Regions from separate parts of the Homo sapiens genome. Here region 1 is linked to region 2. The links are contacts of gene promoters, found by promoter capture Hi-C in human tissues and cell types (Jung and others, 2019). All regions are on one chromosome and are shown on one strand. The core of a region is centred on a gene start or on the middle of the fragment in contact, and the rest is flanking DNA. Distances in the headings are between cores, read along the strand shown.

Evidence for each region. Contacts are between HindIII fragments. The study calls those that stand out against the background at their distance.
Region 1: a fragment that was not itself captured here is called in contact with the fragment with the promoter of CEP68 in region 2 in 1 of the 25 tissues and cell types used here (hippocampus).

The regions. Positions count from the first base shown.
Region 1 is chr2:64,111,034-64,115,991 of GRCh38, forward strand. The region is part of intron 1 of PELI1 (pellino E3 ubiquitin protein ligase 1); the gene reads right to left. Among named protein-coding and RNA genes, the nearest start is that of PELI1, 31 kb to the right of the region's middle. RefSeq lists an enhancer at 3,091-3,170. The HindIII fragment of the contact is 4,307 bases long and covers 1-3,626 here.
Region 2 is chr2:65,052,771-65,057,747 of GRCh38, forward strand. It overlaps CEP68 (centrosomal protein 68), which reads left to right and starts at 3,646. Exons shown (of 7, transcript NM_015147.3): 1 at 3,646-3,758. LINC02576 (long intergenic non-protein coding RNA 2576) reads left to right here. Exons shown (of 3, transcript NR_183398.1): 3 at 1-972. RefSeq lists an enhancer at 3,239-3,478 and silencers at 3,579-3,688, 3,769-4,108, 4,739-4,788, 4,799-4,878. The HindIII fragment of the contact is 11,141 bases long and covers 1-4,977 here.

The sequences.
Region 1 (4,958 bases), core at 223-2,722, 940 kb before region 2:
TTTCATCCTCAGTTTAATGGGATCAAGTATTTCCTGCATTTATTTCTCTCCCTAGTTCCTGATAGACCTGTTACAAAGGTTTCACAGCAAAACTCCTACTAGCTAGCCCATAAAAGTCTCCTCATTTTATACCTCCACCAACAGATTTCATAGGAATCTCATGAATGAAAAAGGTCTACTTGTCTTTTTCTACAGTACAATGAAATACAGCCTGTGTAGTGGCACTTTTGGTGAGAAGGCAACAGGGAATGTATGTAGCCCAATGAATAAGAACACGTCAAAGGAAAAGTCAATGAATAAAACAAATCATTCTGACCCCTACTAATCCCTTGGAAGTGACATACACATTTAGACCAGTCATTCACACTAACACACAACTACTATCATCAATAAATTCAAAAAATTATTTTAAAAAATGCTTCAGAAATATTTTAAGAAAAACATTTCCATCATTCAAATACACTAAAAACACCTCTCGTCACCCTAGATATATTTGCTTTTGCTGAAGAGATTTTAATTCATTACGGTATTTAAAAGGTTACAGAAACCAATATATTGCTATTTCACCATAACTGTGATACATCTGAGTTGTGAGGCAATCAGATTCCTTATTTAGAAAAATAAACTTATGCTAAGCTAACTAAAACCTTCAAGGTAAAAACTGAAGTTTCAAGAACAATTAAATCAACCAAAGAATAATTTTGGTTCCATATAATAAGATCTTCTGATATACATGAAATCATACTTTAGTATATAAACATGTATTCATGCCCTCTCATTTCCCCTCTAAGAAGCATTTCATTTAAAAAAGTTATACAGAAGCTTAACTAGAGGCATTAGCTGTGCTTTTTCTGTTTAGACAATTAAGGAACTGACATCAAACATGAAAACAATGCTTTGACACATTTCTGACGAAGAACAGCAATAATTAAAAATTTAATAACAATTAAATTTAAATTAATTTTAAATTAAATTTTAATAACGTTGCTTTGTTTTGAATTCCTATTTAGAGTTACTATTTAAAGGATATAATGGTTTTCTATTTATAGTAGCAAAAAATTTCCTTTAAAATAAGCTTATTTAAAGGAGTCAATTTAAATTGTATTAAATAGAATTAGTAAGTGCACAGATATGGCAAACATCTGAAAGTGTAAATGCCCGTATTTGGCTGACATTAGTATATCACATGGCTAGCAAGTATTAGCCTGTGTTCTAGTTCTAGCTGTCTTTGAACAAAGCAATCTGTTTCCTCATCTCTGAAAATGAAGGGACTAAAGTGGAATAAAGGGAATTTGGGAGCTGGAAAAAATATAAGCGACCATTTGGTCCTGACATAAGAATTTACAAGTAACGTGCATAACACTATAGATTTAGTTCTATTGCGTCTATAGCAAAAGAACAATTTTTTTGCTTAGACAAGAAACTAAAAAACAAGAGTACGGCTGGCATATACCCTCCATATAATTTCTAGAGCCCTTGGTCAAATTAGCCAAGAAAAACAATATATTTCCAATCAGACATATTCTTACTCTGCTTAGATCTCTTAGAAGGCCTTATCTGGGGATATTTTATCAGTGACATCAAAGTTTCAATCACAGGAACACATTCAATCTTGGCTTCTACTTCTGTATTTGATAATCTAAACCCAAAATAAAACACTTTTGTAGTACCAGTTATTTATATACATAAATGACCCAAGATAGTTTTCAAAATTTAAAAATGGCATATAATCAATCAATATACAACTGGCCTTATTAAACTGCAAATAAAATGCTGTGACAGCTATTCTTCCTGGAACTTTTTTTTTTATGTGTTCTCTGAAGAAAGATTCATGATCTTCCCAAAGGTTTATACTCTTTAACAAAGACCAGTACCTAGACAATGCTTTCCTACTCACTGTCTTTATATATTCTCTCTATATTTTAAAATCTGAGTAAAAGAATTCTTCAAAATGAATTCCTAGGCTGGGCATGGTGGCTCATGCCCGTAATCCCAGCACTTTGGGAGGCCAAGGTGAGAGGATCACTTGAGGCCAGGAGTTTGAGACCAGCCTGCGCAACATAGTAAGACTCCCGTCTCTACAAAAGATTTAAAAAAAAAAAAGTAAAAACAGAAAACATTAGCCAAATGTCATGGCATGCACCTATAGCCCCAGCTACTCAGAAAGCTGAGGTGGGAGGATCACTTGTGCCCAGGAGTTTGAGGCTACAGTGAGCTGTGATCCTCCAGCCTGGGTGACGGAGAGAAACTCTGTCTCAAAAAAAAAGAAAAAAAAAAAAAAATTCCTGAAGTCATGTACTTGAGAACTTTAAATGAGTATGTACATAAAAAACATCCGAATGTCTCGATTACTGGCTTCATTTGTTGGTCTTCAATTAAGTTAGTTTGACCTCATGTATTCAGCCCTATCCCAATGTTATCTAGCACCAAGAACATGAAATAGCACCATTAATTCTACTCAAGACTAGAAGAAATGCTAAAGAAAATCTTCCTAATAAAACTGTCTTCTATTTTATCTATTACTTTGAAACTTTGCTTGATACTCGAAAGCATGTTGCTCTCATTAGCAGGAACTAAACTTCCAGAGTTAAAAAAAAATTTTAAAATAAACATATTCTGGAATAGTGTTATTTTCTTTGTGGGCTGGGAGAACATGAAAAGTTACTCATAAAATATGTATTTATTAGGAATAGTATTATTAATTTGACTGTTAAACATTCTAATCATTTCCTTTTTAAGGGCCAGTGAAATACAATTATTTTCATATCAAGTCTTCCCAAAGGAAAGACTTTGTATAATATCTGTCAGTTTCACCTAAAGAAGAAAAACTGAGAAATCAATCTTTGTCTCTCAACCTAACAAATGTTTTCTTTCATTATTTACATCACACACAGCCTTTTGCTTACTACCTACTAAACACAAGTACAAAATTCCTGCCCTAAAAAAAAAAGCAAAACAAATACTAAGCAAGGGACAAAACAAATCTTATGCAGATTGTTTACATATCTTCTGAGCACTTCTATTTTAGTGGGCAAGTGGGTAGGCATAATGGGGTACTGAGAAAAAAAGGAAAATGTTTTAAAACATGAAAATGTTATAACATTTTTTTATGATGAAAAACAATGTGGACTGCATATATTATCTCAGATAAAACAGATTTCCATCTATACTAGAGTTTCCTTGTGGCTGATTTCAAAAGGATGACTCAAACAGAAAGAACTGCTTTAGTATGTTTGCGGTGGAACCATTTTATGAAACCAATTCAGCTGATGACTGGAGTTTAATTCATAGCAGTTTCTTGATAAGAGTGAAAATTTAATCACCTTCTTCATTCTTTTGCAACCAGCAGGAGTAACACATAGCATTTTTACATAAAAGGAGAAATAATGGTGTGCAGTAGTAGTTGGAGGTTACTACTTTCTGCTAGTGTCTTTTAGCTTCTCAACACAGCAGTGGAGGAAGTGAAGTCTATGTTCCCCTTCCCAAGATACAGGACACCACCTGTGTAAATTCCCACCCTCCTCTCTTAGAGAAGCCAAATAGCATGCTGATAGTATATCACCTACAGGGATAACTTATTTCATCCTGATGGAAAAGGAGTTAACATCTTTCCTAGGGACAGTATTTGTTCCTTTAACTGGGGCTTCTCAACTTGGGCATTACTGACATTTTGACATTGTGGGGCACTGGCCTGTGCATTGTAGGGGGTTCAGCAGTATCTCTGGCCTTTCTGTTCTACCTAGATGCCAGTAGAACATTCTAGTTGTGACTTTAAAAATGCCTCAACTTCCTATCTCCCCACTACTCACTCCCCTACCTTGTGAGAACCACTGCTCTAATCTTGAAGACAACATACATTGTTCTTAGGATGGAAATTTCCCCTTTTTTTGGCATACTTCTTGGCACACAGTAAGGTACTTAATGTTTGCTTACTAACATTATACTGATACTGATAATAAAAGGTTATTTATACTAAGACTTGTGTTAGTAAAGGCCGTGTAGTTGAAGGCGGGTGTAGTTTCAGTATTTTACTAGAATTGATAGGGGCTGAGAGTGAGAATGAGAATCTTGCCTTGATGGCAATTAATGATTAATGTTTCTGTACATTTAAAATATTTTAATATTGTGGCTACCTCTCTCAAATGGTTGAAGGAAAGCGACTAGAGCTGGAGTGGCCACAGAAGTAGCTATAAGGCTACTGCTGGGTAGCCTGCTGTTTAGAGAAAGGCAAATCTTTGGAGGCTAGATAAGTATCTTCTGGACTAAGGGGCCCATATTTAGAAAAATTAAAAGCAGGTTTTGGCAAGCATGGGAGAATTCTTTTAGGTCAACAGAGGGTGTCAATTTGAATCAACCTTGGGGTAAGGTCTATCTTGAACTTGCATAGAATGGTAATTAGCCAAATGCTTTCACGTAAGATTATTTTATTTGACCCCCATAATAGCCCTGTGAATTGGGTAGGAAAGTCTGAACTCTATTTTCCAGATAAGGGAACTGAGTAGGTCAGAAAAGCCCAGTGACTGAAGGCCAAAGAACTCTGGCAGAGCTAGGACTGAGATCCACATGTTAACTCAACATACATTACCCCATTTAATTTCTATTACAACTATAAAGTACAATCATTTGTCCCCATTTTATAAATGGAGAAACTGAAGCTACCAGAGGTAAAGTGGTCCAGATTTTCTAATGTCATTACTCCACACCCTAGACAAGGTAGAATGGGGCTAATTCCTAAACAGACTAAAAGACCCTATTACAGGACCATTTAGAAGACTAGAATGTATTCACATGTAAAATAAACTGTAAAAAAGTTATACTTCAGCATAGATTAGTAACAACTATTCAATTATGAGTAGTGCTGAGATTATCTGAACCTTTGTCACTTCCTCAATGTTCATTGTATTTGTCAACCATTTCCTGGTAGTGACCAACGACAAATATTTCAGTAAATAAAGTGG
Region 2 (4,977 bases), core at 2,396-4,895:
AGAGTTTGTCAAACTCCAAGGCAATTTTCAGTGAGAATGACACTAAGTTTCAGACTTCAGGGCAATAGGAATGATGTCAGACTTCAATTACATTCCCCATGAAGAACCAGACAGCTAGAGTGTCGCTATGTACTTTTAAAAGATGACTGAGGATGGAGACAAGTGAGTTGGCAGACAGTGGCAACCTCTGGAAGACAGAATCTTCTCTGCTGGTTCCCAGGCTGCTGCTCCGAAAGTCCCAAAACACGCACCTGGCCTCTCCTGCATTCCCACTGGCTGCACCTTGCTCCTGCCCAGAATGAAATCTGGCTCCTGGCCACCAAGCAAGAAGCCACCAGCTGACCAAAATTTTTAATTAAAAAAAAAAAATTAGTTCAAGTGCCCACTGGGAGACAAAACTCTGAACCAATGACCAATAGTTTCTTCCACAGCAGAATATCATTGCTGGTAACAATGGGTGTGGTATTTCTCAAATCATACCTAATGATTCTTCTCAAAATTTATACTTTGCTTTTCCTCAAACCAGCTGGTTTAGATATTTTAGTACAATGCTTTCACCAGAACCTACAACAATGGTTCCTATTAACTGAGAACTGAAATTGATGTGGTCTCCTCATGCCACAGGTCACATGTTGTTTGGTGACTGATTTTGACTCTCAGGAGGAAGTGGGGTTGCTGTTACACCACGGAGGCAAGAGGAGCAGTAATAGAACACAGGAGATCTCCTGAGGCACCTCATCACTCTCATGCCAGGGCACAAGTTGATGGCAATGTACTGTACCACCTACAGACAAACTACAGACAACCTACCTACAGGCAACCTCCTCAAGAACAAAAGCTTGCTTAACCCAACCAGGCAAAGAATCCTGGCCAGCTGAGGGGTTGCGTGAAGGAAAGAGGGACCTGGAATGGTTAGCGGAGAAGGAAAATTGTAAATGACAATAAAGCTTCATTACCAGTTACAAAAATGAAGATCGTAACCTCTAACAGTATTTCCCTTCTTGCTGTATTATATATAAATGGAGTTTTTAGCTATTGTCCTTTTCTTTCATTTCCTTTCTTTTCACAATTGTATCTAAAGTCTATCAGTGATGCTTAACTTTACAATTTAGTCTACACATTACAACGATGGGATGGGATGATGATGAAACTGAAAGGAAGAATGGAACATCACCTACAGAAGTTAGACTTGGGCCAAATACAGTAAATGAGGAGATTTTGAGATGCCCTGCTTTGGGGAAGGGATAAGTAAATTTTGTTATAGGAGAGATGCTCGCATTTTGTTGGATGGCAGCATTTTCATTTACCTTTGAAAGCACTTCTGTGAATGTTGGGCAGCCTAAGAGACGGACTATAGTGAAGCAACTTTTGGCAACCCAGCGTCTCATTCTTCTTATTTGAGGGGAGGCCCCCACACACTGAGTCTTGGTATGAGGCTAGGCCTCCCAGACTAGAAGCCACAGTAGAAACCAGAACTCTCTTTGCCTATTGGCAATCAGAACACAGGCACATAACCTAGACTAGGCCAAGTAAATGGTCCTTCCCAAAACTTGAATCTTAAGTGAGAAGAGTTGAAAAATAATTCATGTCACCACCAAAGGAGCTGGTACGCACCCTAATCAGAGTACCAAAGCAGGATGGCTTAGCTGGTTCCTAACATTTCCAGGCCTGGTTCTCCAGCATTGCTGCTGCAAGGAGTATAACTACAGACAGCTCTAGGCCTACTTTTCCCGCGCTCAGAAACACCAAAAGAAAGAGCCTCTTTCTCCCAGCCTCATTCTCTAAAATCCCCGACAAGGGCTCAGATCATCTCAGGTTTGGTCATGTGCGCATCCCTGGGGAAATCTGAAAACAAGAGGAGGGAGACTACAGCTGGTCAGGCCTGGGTTCCACACCTCCCCTTCTCCACACCCATCCTGCCTTGGGAGACCGGAGAAGTGCGGTGCTAAAGAACCATCTGACCCAGCGGACTGCAGACAATTCCCAAAGGAAAGTTTTCCCGTCAGGCAAAAACAAAAGCTGCTCACAACACAAAATTACAGAACATCAGAACCAAAAGGAACCTTGGGACTCCTTCATCCTATCCCCTCTCTTTATAGATGAGGAAACCATACAGGATATGTACGCCTGTTTGGACTTTGTACAGTTCTCTGTCCAGCAGGGGTGACTTGGCTGTGGGATTAGGTGACTCCACTGGAGGTCTTCTGTGTATAGAAAAGATCAAGGGTCACAAACACAAATGCCTTCAGGTAGGCAGCAAATGTGTGAAGGCTGGCTGTTACTTAATGGACCAGTGGTGGTGGTGGGATTCAAATTCTTATTAAAAAACAAAAGCAAACAAACAAAGAAAAGCTATGCGATGCCCAAATAAAACCATCTGTGGGCTAGCTGCTGCTGTTGTCCAAAGTTTGTGGCCCCTGGGTTAGACAAAACCTCTGAGCTGTCCTGACAGGTCTGGGAAAACCAAACAAGTCCTTGTCTCCTAAACTACCTGGGACTCAAGAGCTCTGTAGGAAAAAATTTGTACCCTGCACCCAGCTGGGGTTGACATTTACAGACGCCTGTTTTATGAACTGGGGAGATATTCAGTTGAAGCCAGATTGCTGAAAGTGCTGCTGAGAGAAAATCATCAGAAGGGAGGGCCTCTTCCCCACGCCACCCTGGTGGTAGTTCCTCTATGCCTCCGGATTCTGCTAAGCAGTAAAAGCTAAAGGGCAGTGTCATTAAGCTCCTAGGGGATGGGATGCAGTGGCTCACACCTGTAATTCCAGCACTTTGGGAGGCCGAGGCGGGAGGATCGTCTGAGTCCAGGAGTTCAAGCCCAGCCTGGGCAACACAGCAAGACCCCATCTTTGCAAAATAGATAGATAGATAGAGATGTATGAAAGTTACTAGGTCCCATGCTGGCAGGGGAGAGAGTGAGCACCCTGGCCTCCCACAAGCTGCCTCCCACTTCCCTCCGACTCCATCACCGATTTCCCATCAGAGCAGGCTGCTCAGAGTGGCTAAGTAGCTACCAGTTCATTTTCCACACCCTTCCCATTCTCCACGAGCCAGAGCTCCACCTCCCCCCAGAAGCTGTCTTCAACCACCCGGCCTGGGGAGCTCCCCTCAGCACTGGCTCCCCGCCCCGCCTCGCAGCACCTGTTCGGGCCTCGGTCGCGCCGCCGGGTCTTGCAGACGCGAATGTAAACAGAAACACAGTGAAAGGCGTTCGGAGAGCCTCGTGACTGCGGCACGGCGGCGAGCCGGGAACATCAGTGCGTCCAGAGCAAAATGAACGAATGTACGCATGACTCCTGGAGCGACCTTCACGAGGGAAAGCGCGCCCCCCGGCACCCACCCCTAAGCGCCCCAAAATGACCAGCCTTTACACAACCCAGCTCGCAGGCGAAGCTGAGGTCGGAGCTCCAAAAGCGAGGGAGGACAGCCGCTGAAGAAGTCCCGGCTTCCCATAGGCCAGGACGAAGTAGGGGGCGGGCTCATCTTGCAGGAGCGTCCACGTATTGGTGGAGCCGCGGACTTAGAGCTGCGATTCGCTGCGCGAAATTGCCGAAAGCCCTCCCGCGGAGGGAGAAGGGGCGGGAAGAAGGGCGTGGTCAGCGCGGCCGAAGGGCGTGGTTGGCGCTCGGTCCTGCCCTGCGCGTTTTGGGCTGCGGTTGGAGGGCCGCAGTTGCAGTCAGGGTCCGCCAGCTCGGGGCCAGCGCATGGGGCTGCTGAGACCGCTCCGGACGTGCGAAGCGTTCGCGGTGCGGTAGGTAGGCAGTGTCCCGCGTGCGGGTGCTGGTGTCGGGGGTGCCGCGGCGCTGGGGGCGGTGGCCCGGGCTAGATCCGCGCGCGCGCCCGGCCCCCTCCCCCGCGTCTCTTCGGTGCCTGCGGGGCCCTTGCGGTGCGGGCCGTCTGGCCTCGCGTCCCCGCCGGCAAGGGCACAAAGGCTCCCTGGGGGGCGGGGGCGCCTCGTGCCTTCGCCTCCATCTTGCGAGCGGAACGGCGTGTGCTGTGGCGGCCGAGGGGTCGGGGCCGAGGCGGGCGGCTGGGCTTGGGAATGCCCGGGCGCGGCGAGGGAGTGCGCGAGTCCGCGCATCTGGCGGCCGAGCAGCTGCGCCGCTGGTCGGCCTGGGCCCCGGGGGAGGTCACTTTCCCTCAGGCCTCTCCCGGGCGTGGGCTGTTTACCCAGCTCCCCAGTCGGGGCTAATGCAGCTCGGGCCTTTCCCCCTGGAAAGATGGAGACCAGTGATGTCTTCTTATCGCCGCGCCCAGATGCGGAGAGAAAAAATCAAGATGTCTCATTTTTTTTGCCTCGGAGGGCTACCCTTTCTAACTGTCATCACTAGAACAGTTCTCAGCAGCCTGGGGACGAATGTCCAAAACCTGTTCCAGGCCCTTGATGATTAGTAGGTTGGGTTTAGTGTATTGTTTGTAACAAAAATGAGCGGAAGCCTGCCAGGGCAGATTGGACCTCACTGGGAATTCATCAGGACCACGAAGGGAGGTAGCGTTTGTAAATAATCTAACAGTTCTCAGATCTAGGGTATGAAGAGTGTTGTGTTAAAGTGTGTAACAAAGGTTGTTGGGTCAGTTTGCCTTGGGTTTAGTTGAAAGATCTAGAAGTCACCACTTTTTACTTTGTTCCCTCCATTCCCCTTTCCCACCCTCTGTTGAGTCAATTCTGGCCCACTTAGAAAACAACAACAACAAAAAACCCAAGGAATTCAGTTTAACCTCTTTTGCGCAAAGCTTTTTAAAGCACTTCCCCACCCTGCGACTGATAACTCCTCCCTTTTTTGGGCTACCTTCTGCAGCCTCTGTTTTTACTCATCACACTGTATTGTGGTTTCCCCAGCCCCTAGCACAATGCTTGGAACATAAAAGGCACTCAATGATGGAAGGAAGCCAAAAGGAAACAAAATCAGCGTGGTAGTCTAAAGGTGACACAACAGAAACATTTATTTAACTTCTTGAGCGAGTTATTCTTAC